Linked DNA regions of Homo sapiens: region 1 is linked to region 2. Evidence: promoter capture Hi-C in 16 types of primary human blood cells and fetal thymus (Javierre and others, 2016). All regions are on one chromosome and are shown on one strand. Each heading gives the region's core, a stretch centred on a gene start or on the middle of the fragment in contact. The rest is flanking DNA. Distances are from core to core; before and after follow the strand shown.

The links. Contacts are between HindIII fragments. The CHiCAGO score rates a contact against its expected background, and 5 or more counts as called.
Region 1: a contact is called between a fragment that was not itself captured here and the fragment with the promoter of BBS12 in region 2, in 1 of 17 cell types (naive CD8 T cells). The highest score is 7.8, in naive CD8 T cells.

What each region holds. Positions count from the first base shown.
Region 1 is chr4:120,059,042-120,063,806 of GRCh38, forward strand. It overlaps MAD2L1 (mitotic arrest deficient 2 like 1), which reads right to left. Exons shown (of 5, transcript NM_002358.4): 3 at 2,934-3,054; 4 at 1,833-1,936; 5 at 1-1,249. The coding sequence ends at 1,077. Among named protein-coding and RNA genes, the nearest start is that of MAD2L1, 5.4 kb to the right of the region's middle. The HindIII fragment of the contact is 5,099 bases long and covers 1-3,845 here.
Region 2 is chr4:122,728,818-122,733,959 of GRCh38, forward strand. It overlaps BBS12 (Bardet-Biedl syndrome 12), which reads left to right and starts at 3,887. Exons shown (of 2, transcript NM_152618.3): 1 at 3,887-4,067. It also overlaps the pseudogene CETN4P. RefSeq lists a silencer at 3,557-3,776 and an enhancer at 4,137-4,346. The HindIII fragment of the contact is 1,306 bases long and covers 3,141-4,446 here.

The sequences.
Region 1 (4,765 bases), core at 46-2,545, 2.7 Mb before region 2:
TAGAAAGCATGTACCAGATGAGGGTATTAATGAAAGCACAGGAATAAGCATAGTATTTAAGTATATAAGGAAAAGTAGGCTGACAATAAGGCTAAGAGTATAGTAAAGTACTAAAATCAACACTTGTTCAACTGGAATTGTTGGACTAATTCCAAAGGACATTTATCTTTTCACAATGATGAAGTAATAGCCTTAAGTCTATTGCTATGAGATGAACAGGATGTGATCAAAGTTTATCCATTAGATTGAAGACACCTCAAGACTCACTCAACTTTGGACCCTTAAGTTCTATAACTTCGTAGGAACAAGAATTCATTAGCTATGCTGAATCAATTCTAATTACCATTTAACTATATCAACACCAAACCAGTATCAAAATGTTTTAAGACAAATTTAAAACAAACTTAACTTTATTTCCTCACTTTCACTTAAAACTTGATTTTATAAAACACATGAAAAAACATTTTTAAGAGTTCTGTATCACAGAACATTAAACAGTACAAATATCCATTGCTTCATAGGTTCAAGTTACATAAATTAAAGTCAAATAATTGGAAACTGATTCAATAGGGAAAACTATACATGAAATGAAGGTCAAAAGGAGCTATACAGCAATATTTCATTGTTTATAGATTATGAGTTACTTTCAGGACCTTAACAAAGATTCTGAATATTTAGACTTCCTTTGTTGTATTTTATACTTAAATATCTCCCTACCTATACTGAGTCAAACTACTTGACCAAAACATCTGATTTAGGAAAGCATCTAGCTTTATAGCACAAGTTTTTCCATCTACAGTTACTATCTTCAAAGGAATATACATCACAATGTTGACAAAAAAACCTCCTGGTTCCTTTTGAACAATGTGCAATAAATTCATGATGTTAACTCCATGGTAAGTCAAATAGGTACCAAAAAAATAAAAGGAACAATTACACACAGTTCAGTAAGTATCATTTTGGTTTTCTCCATGTAAAAATTAACCAATGAAATAAAACATATCAACTATAGATGACTTGATTTCAGGAAAACCACATTTCAAAATTACAATTACATTATTTTCCTCATGTCATCCTCAGTCATTGACAGGAATTTTGTAGGCCACCATGCTATTTACTTTGTGGATTGTAGTAGTAAATGAACGAAGGCGGACTTCCTCAGAATTGGTAATAAACTGTGGTCCCGACTCTTCCCATTTTTCAGGTACAACCAAATCTTTGTCTGTATAAATCAGCAGATCAAATGAACCTAAATTGGGGATAAGATCATTGAAGTATATTATTTTCTAAAAGTAAAACTAATCTTGCTGCCTCTCTTCTATTTTGAACCACTCACTGCTGGAAAAGGTCATTTGGCTTGGTCTCCAATCACTAGTTAATTTATTTTGCTCAATGAACATTTATTTCAGTAAAGAAAATATTGTATCTAACTTCCGTGCAATTTAGTGATTGTGTTCAAGTAACCCTTATCTTATTTAATAATGGTCCCAAAGCACAAGAATAGTGATGCCAGCATATTGTTATAATTGTTCCAGTTTATTATTAACTCTTACTATGCTTAATTTACATATTAAATTTTATCATAGGTATGTATGCATAAGAAAAAAACATTATATAGGGTTCATACTATCCATGGTTTCAGGTATTCACTGTGGGTCTCCCTGTGGAAAGGGAGACTACGATACATTACTTTTGCATGATAATGTTTTTCCTTCAATTTATATTACATAAATCTGATAAATAAGACAAAATTTAATAAAGGGGTGATTACGGCAGTAGCTTAGTCTTTTTGCCAATCAATTTAATTCAACAAGAAGTTGTATAATACTTACAAGAAACTTCCAACAGTGGCAGAAATGTCACCGTAGCTGTGATCTGTCTGATCACTGAACGGATTTCATCCTGGATAGCTTTCTGAGACTTTTCTCTGGGTGCACTGTCAAAAAAAAATCAAATCAATTAATTCATTTCAGGTCTTAACAAATTATTTCAAACATAGTGGTTAGATTATTTATCTGATTAAATGCTCTCAACATCAAATAAGCAGGGCTTATTTGAGAAAGGAGGTTTGTAAAAAATGTGAGTGAAAGTATCCTTCAGACCTACAACCTAGTAGGCACAACATTCATCCTTATTACTTCATTTATCCTGCCAGTCATCTTTTAGAGCTGGTCTTAGTGTCAGGTCATTTAGTATCAGATGACTAGAAAATTTGCCAATCACTTCAAGTTCAGGAAACTTCAGCATCTCTTGAAATAAAAATAAGTGATATCTAAAATATGTATTGGTATAATCATTTCAGCATTTTTAGTAATGCCTAAATGTCTAATTTCCTATTTTCTCAAATAAAACATTAAATTGTATATCAAATTATTTTATAAGCTAAAAATTTCCTAAAATACACCAAAGCCTTCAGAAGCAAACTACATTTCACTATAAGAAATGGTTCTCAGTTTATAGAAGAGCATGCCTAGGACAATGCATTTCTCTTCCAGGGAGTCTGGAACCTTCAGAAATTTATGAAGTGTCTTAGGAAGTAGATGGCATTAAAGGAAGTACAGCAGAGCTACATCTTAAATTGTGTGAGTCTAATATCATTCCTTATAGTTAAAAATATCTTAGAACAATTATTAAATGGTTCATCTAGTATATCATGTGTAGTTTTGTATATATCACCATAAATACTGTTTGAAAACTACTGATTTAGACTAAAGGCAATTATGTTAAAATTATATTATATATACAAATCAATGATATGCTAAACTGAGCACAATTCTTTTCCATAGGTGACTGAGGATATCTTAGAAAATATAAATTAGAAACAAACTATATTTTATATAAAACTAGTTCAATACAATTAGAACTCAATTAGTAATAAAAACAAGTTTTGAAAAAAAATATATCAAAGTAGAAATAATGTAATTCCTATTTACCTGTCATCTTTTGCAGTCTTGTCACACTCAATATCAAACTGCCATCTTTCCAGGACCTCACCACTTTCAATATTTGAGATAACTACAACCAGTTTCTGAACTGAACACTTGTATAACCAATCTGCAACATATAAAAAGGAAGGCATCTTTCTTGGTCCACTGCATCATAAAGTAGCTCTCTTCTCGGGTCCCACTCCCTATCCTCAGCAAATTCCTACCACTGCTATCTGGGACCTCCTCCTATGTGCAAGAAAATTTGCACCATCAATAATCTAACTTCTGTTTTCAAATTCTCAGTATCTGTATCAGGTACAGTAATTGGTGCTGAGGACAGAATACTGAACATGTGGTAGTTTCATCCTAATCCAACATAAAAGCATAGGAGATGGGCATTAATCTACTCATCACACCAATAAATGAGAAATTATCATTGTAATGGCTGCTATGAAAGAAAGATGTAAGATGCAATGAGAGCATAAAAAAAGGAAAATTTGAGCCACTCAGGGAGGTCAGAAAAGGTCTGAGTTTAGCTCTAGGGATAAACAGCATTAAATATGCAAAAGGATACGAAAGAAGATACAGGCCTCAAATACTGCCAAGGGAAGAGCATATAGAGGGCTGGAAGCAGCCCACTACAAGTGCAATCAAGAAACAAACAAACAAAATAAAACAAAGTAATCCTTGCAAGATTAACAGGAGCCAGACCATGCAAAGCCTGGTGGATCAAATTAAAAAAATATATACTTCAAGACCAGGGAAGTCATTACTGTGTGTGAACAGGATGTAAAGCAATTAGACTTGTATTTCAAAACTATCATTCTAGCCGTGATACGGAAAGTGGACTGGAGATGTTAAAGAGGGGATCTAGAGACACTAGTTAGTCAATCAGTAATTCAAGCAAGAGTTAATGAAAGCTTGTAGGAGGATAAACTGGTAGATATGGAGCAATAGGTAGATTTAAGAGATTTCATGGTTAAAACGTATTGGGTTTAGTCACGATAGTAAGGAAGAAGCATGATTCAGGGACAGCTTCCAAGTTTCTTTTATTTCTGGCTGGACGGTTTAGTCATTCATTGAGAGAAAAAAAGAGAATTAAAGAGTATCAGTCTTGGAGATGATCCTAAATTTAGTTTTTAGTATACTTGAGTGTACATTGTCTCTGGGATAGCTACATAAAGATATAGCTGCTGGATATATGAGTCTGGAGAAAGAGGCTTGGGATAGATGTAAGTTTGTGAGCTGACTACACAGAGGTTGTTAGTGAAGCTATACACAGGTCAGAGATCACCTATAGAGAAATTATAAACACAGAACGGGGGCTCAGATTGAGCCTTGAAGTAATCTTGGAAATTGAAACAGCATATTCAGGAGTCAGCGAAGTTTTTGTAAAGAAACAGAGTAATTACTAAATATTTTAGGCTTATTGGCCACCAAGATCTCTGTTGCTTATTTTTAAACAAACCTGTAAGTGTAAAAACACTCTTAGCTTGTGGGCAGTGCAAAAACAGGCCACTTGTTGGATGTGGCCTGTGGGCCTTGTGATCCCTGGCATTTATCAACAACTTTTTATTAGTTTCACTCTGAAAAGGAGACTGGGTGGTAATTTGCTCTTCCTTTAAAACTGGAGAGATGAAACCAATGGGGATAATTAAAATCAAAACACAGAAGCAGAAAATATAAGAGAGAACAGGATAAAGACCCTGAAAAAGGCTAGAGGAAATTACATTCAAAACAAAACAATTGGCCAGCAAAACAAAACATGAGCAGCCACTCATGCCTGTAATCCCAGCACTTTGGGAGGCAGAGGTGGGTGGATCACGAGGTCAGGAGTT
Region 2 (5,142 bases), core at 2,637-5,136:
CTATAGTTAATTTTCTATGAGTCTTTCTTGCTCCAAAGACAACTTGGTTATCAGAAAGTGTTTGTGTGGAGCAAGTGGCATCTGTTGCCTATTTGTCAGGAGCAGAAGTCTGAGCACTTCTGTCCACTGCATCTTGTTTCAAAGTCGCCAAGGAAAACAATGCAGTGAAACACTGGGTGGAACACACATTACTCACATACAGAAGAGACAGAGCAAGATCAGCTTCCCTAGTGGACTTCAGTCTCCCATGACCAGAGGGTCCCTCTTGGCAGCTGACACAGGGCAGGTGGCCTGCAAACACTCCTCTTGTGCTGAAGGACCCCCATCCCCTCCCCCACAGGAGACAGAGCAGTGGGGTTGGTCAGATGCCATATGATGCACACACTTAAGCAGGGCAAAGGACTACACATTGACTCTGAAACAGAGGAAGATATTACTATACGGGGTGGTAAGTTCAGCACAGGCTCTGTGGACTCCTAGTCTCTTCAAAAGAAGTGTTCCAGGCCCAAGGCCCACTCTCAAACAACTGAGTAGGAGTTAAAAGACTGTATGTATGAGATTCCGTTTCCCAACAGTTTGGCTCTTTCACAAGGAAGAAATCACAAGAGTCACAGAATTGAAAATGAGTTAGAAAATACACAGTTATCTTGAAAGTTTTATCCATAGGGAAGCAGCATAATGAAGAATAAGAACTTAAGATTTGGAATCCATGTTTTATTTCTTATCAATGGGCAACTGGGGAATTTTTAAAACTTCTCTGAACTTTAGTTTTCTTGTATGTAAAATGGAGCTAATACAATCAGCTTCCAACTTGTAATATGTTTACTGAGGTTAACACATAAAATCTCGGCCAGGCACGGTGGCTCACCCCTGTAATCCCAGCAGTTTGGGAGGCTGAGGTAGGCAGATCATGAGGTCAGGAGATTGAGACCATCATGGCTAACACAGTGAAACTCCGTCTCTACTAAAAATGCAAAAAATTAGCTAGGCATGGTGGCAGGTACCTGTAGTCCCAGCTACTCGGGAGGCTGAGGCAGGAGAATCTCTTGAGCCCAGGAGGCAGAGGTTGCATTGAGCCGAGATCGCACCACTGCACTCCAGCCTGGGTGACAGAGGGAGATTTTGTCTCAAAAAATATATAAATAAAATTTTTTAAAAATAAAACTCTACACCACCTGTCCTAGCACAGAGGTATTAAGTGCTCACTATAGAGTCAAACTTACAGGGAAATATGGGTGATGTAAGTGCTATTTTGAATTTTCTTTATAACTAAAAGAAGAAAATTAGCAAATAATGTTTCCAGACAGTTCTATTTAATACTTTATGTATTTGAGTAACTGACTAAAAAGCAAATGTTCATCAGGTTTTTTTGGGTTGCACAAAAGGAAAATATAAGTTTTGTTTGCCAAATTCATTTGGATGTGAAGCCAACTTCATCAAACTTTAAAATTCTAAGTCTTTGTGACCTAAGGTTCTCAAAAGAGCAGCTAGAATCAATACTGTTCTTGGATTAATGGCTCAAAGAAGTCATTATGTTTTGTTTCTTGATGCTGTAGATTTAACATCATATTGGTAGAGATGTGTAACTTCTTACATGGATTAGACATCAAGAAGCCAATGTGTACATATAAACTAAAAACTGAAAATGAATACATTCAGATATTAAATTATAAAACTGCATAACAAATACAAATTTGTTAATTTTCCACAAGGACTAAAACAACGCTATTAATAACGAGTAGTCTTTTTCATCACTCTCAAAACATCTTCCTCGTTTATTTCTCCATCTCTATCATGATCAGCTTCATCAAGCATTTCCTGTAAAACAAAATGTAAATATATGAAATACATTTAAAATGACATAAATGAAGTCAAACACATATTCAAAACCAAATTTTATTTTAAATGCATAAGTGCAACTAAAGTTAGAATTATAATCCTAAATTATCACATAAGTTATAATTACATATAAATTATAATTATAAAAATAAGCAAAATCTACCTGAAGTTCATCATGTTAAATTTTCCCCTGGTTTCTTAGCAAACCTCTTGATACCGGTTAGTATTATACTTCCAGTATCATCATCATCAAATAATTTGAAAGTCTTCAATATTTCTTCTTTTTCATCTTTTTTACTCTTTTAAAAAAGAAGCAACTATCCAGTCTTTCATTTATTTATTTTATCAAGCTGGACTTAATTAGATCTTTGGGGTCTAAAGCAGCAATGTGCCAAGTAGCTGTGTTCTGATTTTATTTATTGGTCTTTTAACAATTATGTACTCACACCTGCCCTCAAGGTGCTTAAAGGTAGAGCTTGCTAAGGTGGAGAAGGCACAGGGTGGTCCAGAATGCATCTCTTATTAAACCTCATAATTCAGATCCGTTACCAAAAATGTAAGCTTCAAAATGGAAGGTTGTATCTTTCAATGCTCCTTAGAATAGTGCCTGGCAAAAATAGGCATTCAATATATGTTGCTGAATTAAAGGCTTCCAAATTCTGGCCCCATTCTCTCTATCCTGCAATATAGCCTCATTATTTCCTGACAAAAACCTCTTCTCCACATCATAGTCTTCTCATTACTACCCTGAAAACATATTTAATCTTGCTCTTCCTATCTCCCATCCTTAAAAACCTAGTTCTAATTGCTTCTCTATAAAACTTCTGATTGCTCCAGCCCTAAAATGTAGCAGGTTATTGCTAGTATTTCTTTGAAAAATAAAATCATAACTATATCATTTTTATACTCATAATGGCAAAAAAAAATCTTCAAAACTAATGGTGCCAATTCCTTCTTTATCAACTTCAGCTACCATTTTTTAAATTTCTTCTTTCTTTGGTTCAAATCCTAAGGCCCACACTGCAATCTGAAATAGGAAGAAAAGGAATTATAATATGCCATGATTTCTTTCTAAGCTTTTTAACTCCCTATTAAGAGCTTCTCTCTTTTCTATTATGGACTGAGCATAAACAGAAAATTAGGTCAGCAGGCCTGTGTTTCAGTCCTACTGTGCCATCATGTACATCACTGTTACACCCTGGGCTTTTGCCTACTCATTTATAAAACACAATTAAAATGCTTAACAAGATATCGTTTTGCTAATGCAGGGCAGGCATATGCACTGAAGAGACTTTATATTAAGCTTTCAGAAGACTACTTTTAAAGAAAGCCTTAAAGATTGCCACAAATAATATGGTTTTTAAAATGATTTAGAATTAGAAATAATTTCAGAACCTTCTTTTACATCGATGGTTCCAGACCCATCAATATCAAATAAATTAAAGGCGTCTTTAATTTCTTGCTTTTGGGATTCATTCAGTTCAATTTTTGCTGCTCTTTTCTTCCATTGGTCTGAACTTGTATGGTAGTTAGATGCCTGTAATACACACACATATGGGTGAAAGATAAATTATATAACTGGAATAGTTAGCAGAACCAGAATAATTGATGATAAACTATATTAAAGTACCTATTTCCTACTATAAAATGAATCTCAACAGGAGTAAGGAAGGAGTGCAGTTGCTGCCAGGGGCAGCCTTCCTTGCTCTGGCGGAAAAACTTCGGCCCCGGCCCCAGCAGAAGGTTACAGCTTCACACTCACCAGGTCCCCAGCCGGCAGCCGGCGCTCTCAGCCGGGACCTCCCGGCGTCACCTCCCGCAGCCCCGCCCAACCCAAGTCTTCACAGCTCACTGGCGGTTGCTAAGGCCGCTCTCACCGACCTCTCTCAGCCCCGCCCACCCAGCCTGAGTTATTGACATCCAGTTCATCCAATGGACAGAAAAAAAGGCCTTTAAACCAGCCCTTTCTCTCTACTCCCTACCAATAGCGTGACGTCCCCGCCTTTCGCAGCCCGGCGTTAAGCGGAACTTCTCTCTCCAGCTGTGTCTCTTAGCAACTAAGCCCCCGGCTCCTCCAGAAGCCCCTCTTCGCACATGCGCAAACTGCGGACGGGGAACTGGGCTCCCTAGCCCTGGCGTTTTTGGTGTTGCTGTCCCAGCCAGAATCGCGTCTGGCCGGTGGGAAGCCGGGAACTCCAGCCCCCTGTAGGAGAGGAGAAAGGAGCGAGGTTAGTAGTGAGGTGCTTCCGCTGACTGCTAAGCTAAGTCTTTCCTGAAGACGTGGGAGCCCGTGTGTTTGATTTTTCTGTCCTCTTCGGGCCAGGGAAAGAATGAGAATCTAGGGCCTGGAGGTCCTGGGGTGAATTGGTCCAGCATGTGGCTAGGAGTACTAGAGGAAGAGGGGACTGCCCTTTCTTTTTGCCGCTAGACTTTCCTCATTTTCTACAGTGCCTGGAGCTGGGCCTTCAGCCATTTACCTCCTCCCTGTTTTGGGCAGGGATTCTGGCATGGTAGACACCAGAATTCTGTATAGCAGTGGCATGGGGTAACAGTGTCGTTGGAGGGACGTGGGTATTGGGATAAGCATGGGTCTTGGGATGTATTTAAAGCTTCACTACATACATAGATAAACGTTTTTACATGTTTCGTGTAGCATTTGTTTACGAGGTAGGACTTTGGCCCCACCCATAATTACTATCGGACCCCGCCCTCCAACCCCAACACACACACACACACACACACACACACACACACACACACACACACACATCCAGCCATTTCCTTGGCCCAGTCCTAAGATTTGGCCAGTTGTCAACGATATCAACTTGATCTGCACTTCAGAGTCAGACACAGGTAGTCTGATTATCCAGTTGATTCAGTAACGGCCTAGATTTAGATACTTGTGAAACTTTTGTAAACCAACTCAATCTCTTGTCCAGAGGGCCAGATTTACTGCTTCTGCCCGTTCTGAATTTGGCCAGGAATCAGCTTAAAGGACAGGGGAGAAAGACTGAGGTAGGATGGACCACTGACTTCCTGGTGGGAATGAAGGAATGAGAGAATCTTAAAACTTCTAACCTTTAATTGCTCACACATGCGGACCCCTTTTATGCCTCCTACAATGTCTTCTCTAGAGGAAATATTTTCTAAAAATTATACTGGATTCTTCAAAAATGGATTCAGGAAGAATACTAACTTTAGTCTTTTTTTTTTTTTTTTTTTTTTTGTCTCACTTATCTTCCTGAAGGCAGGAGAGGAAAACAAGTGCAAAGTGCATTCTTGAAGCACTCTGTCAAATCACTT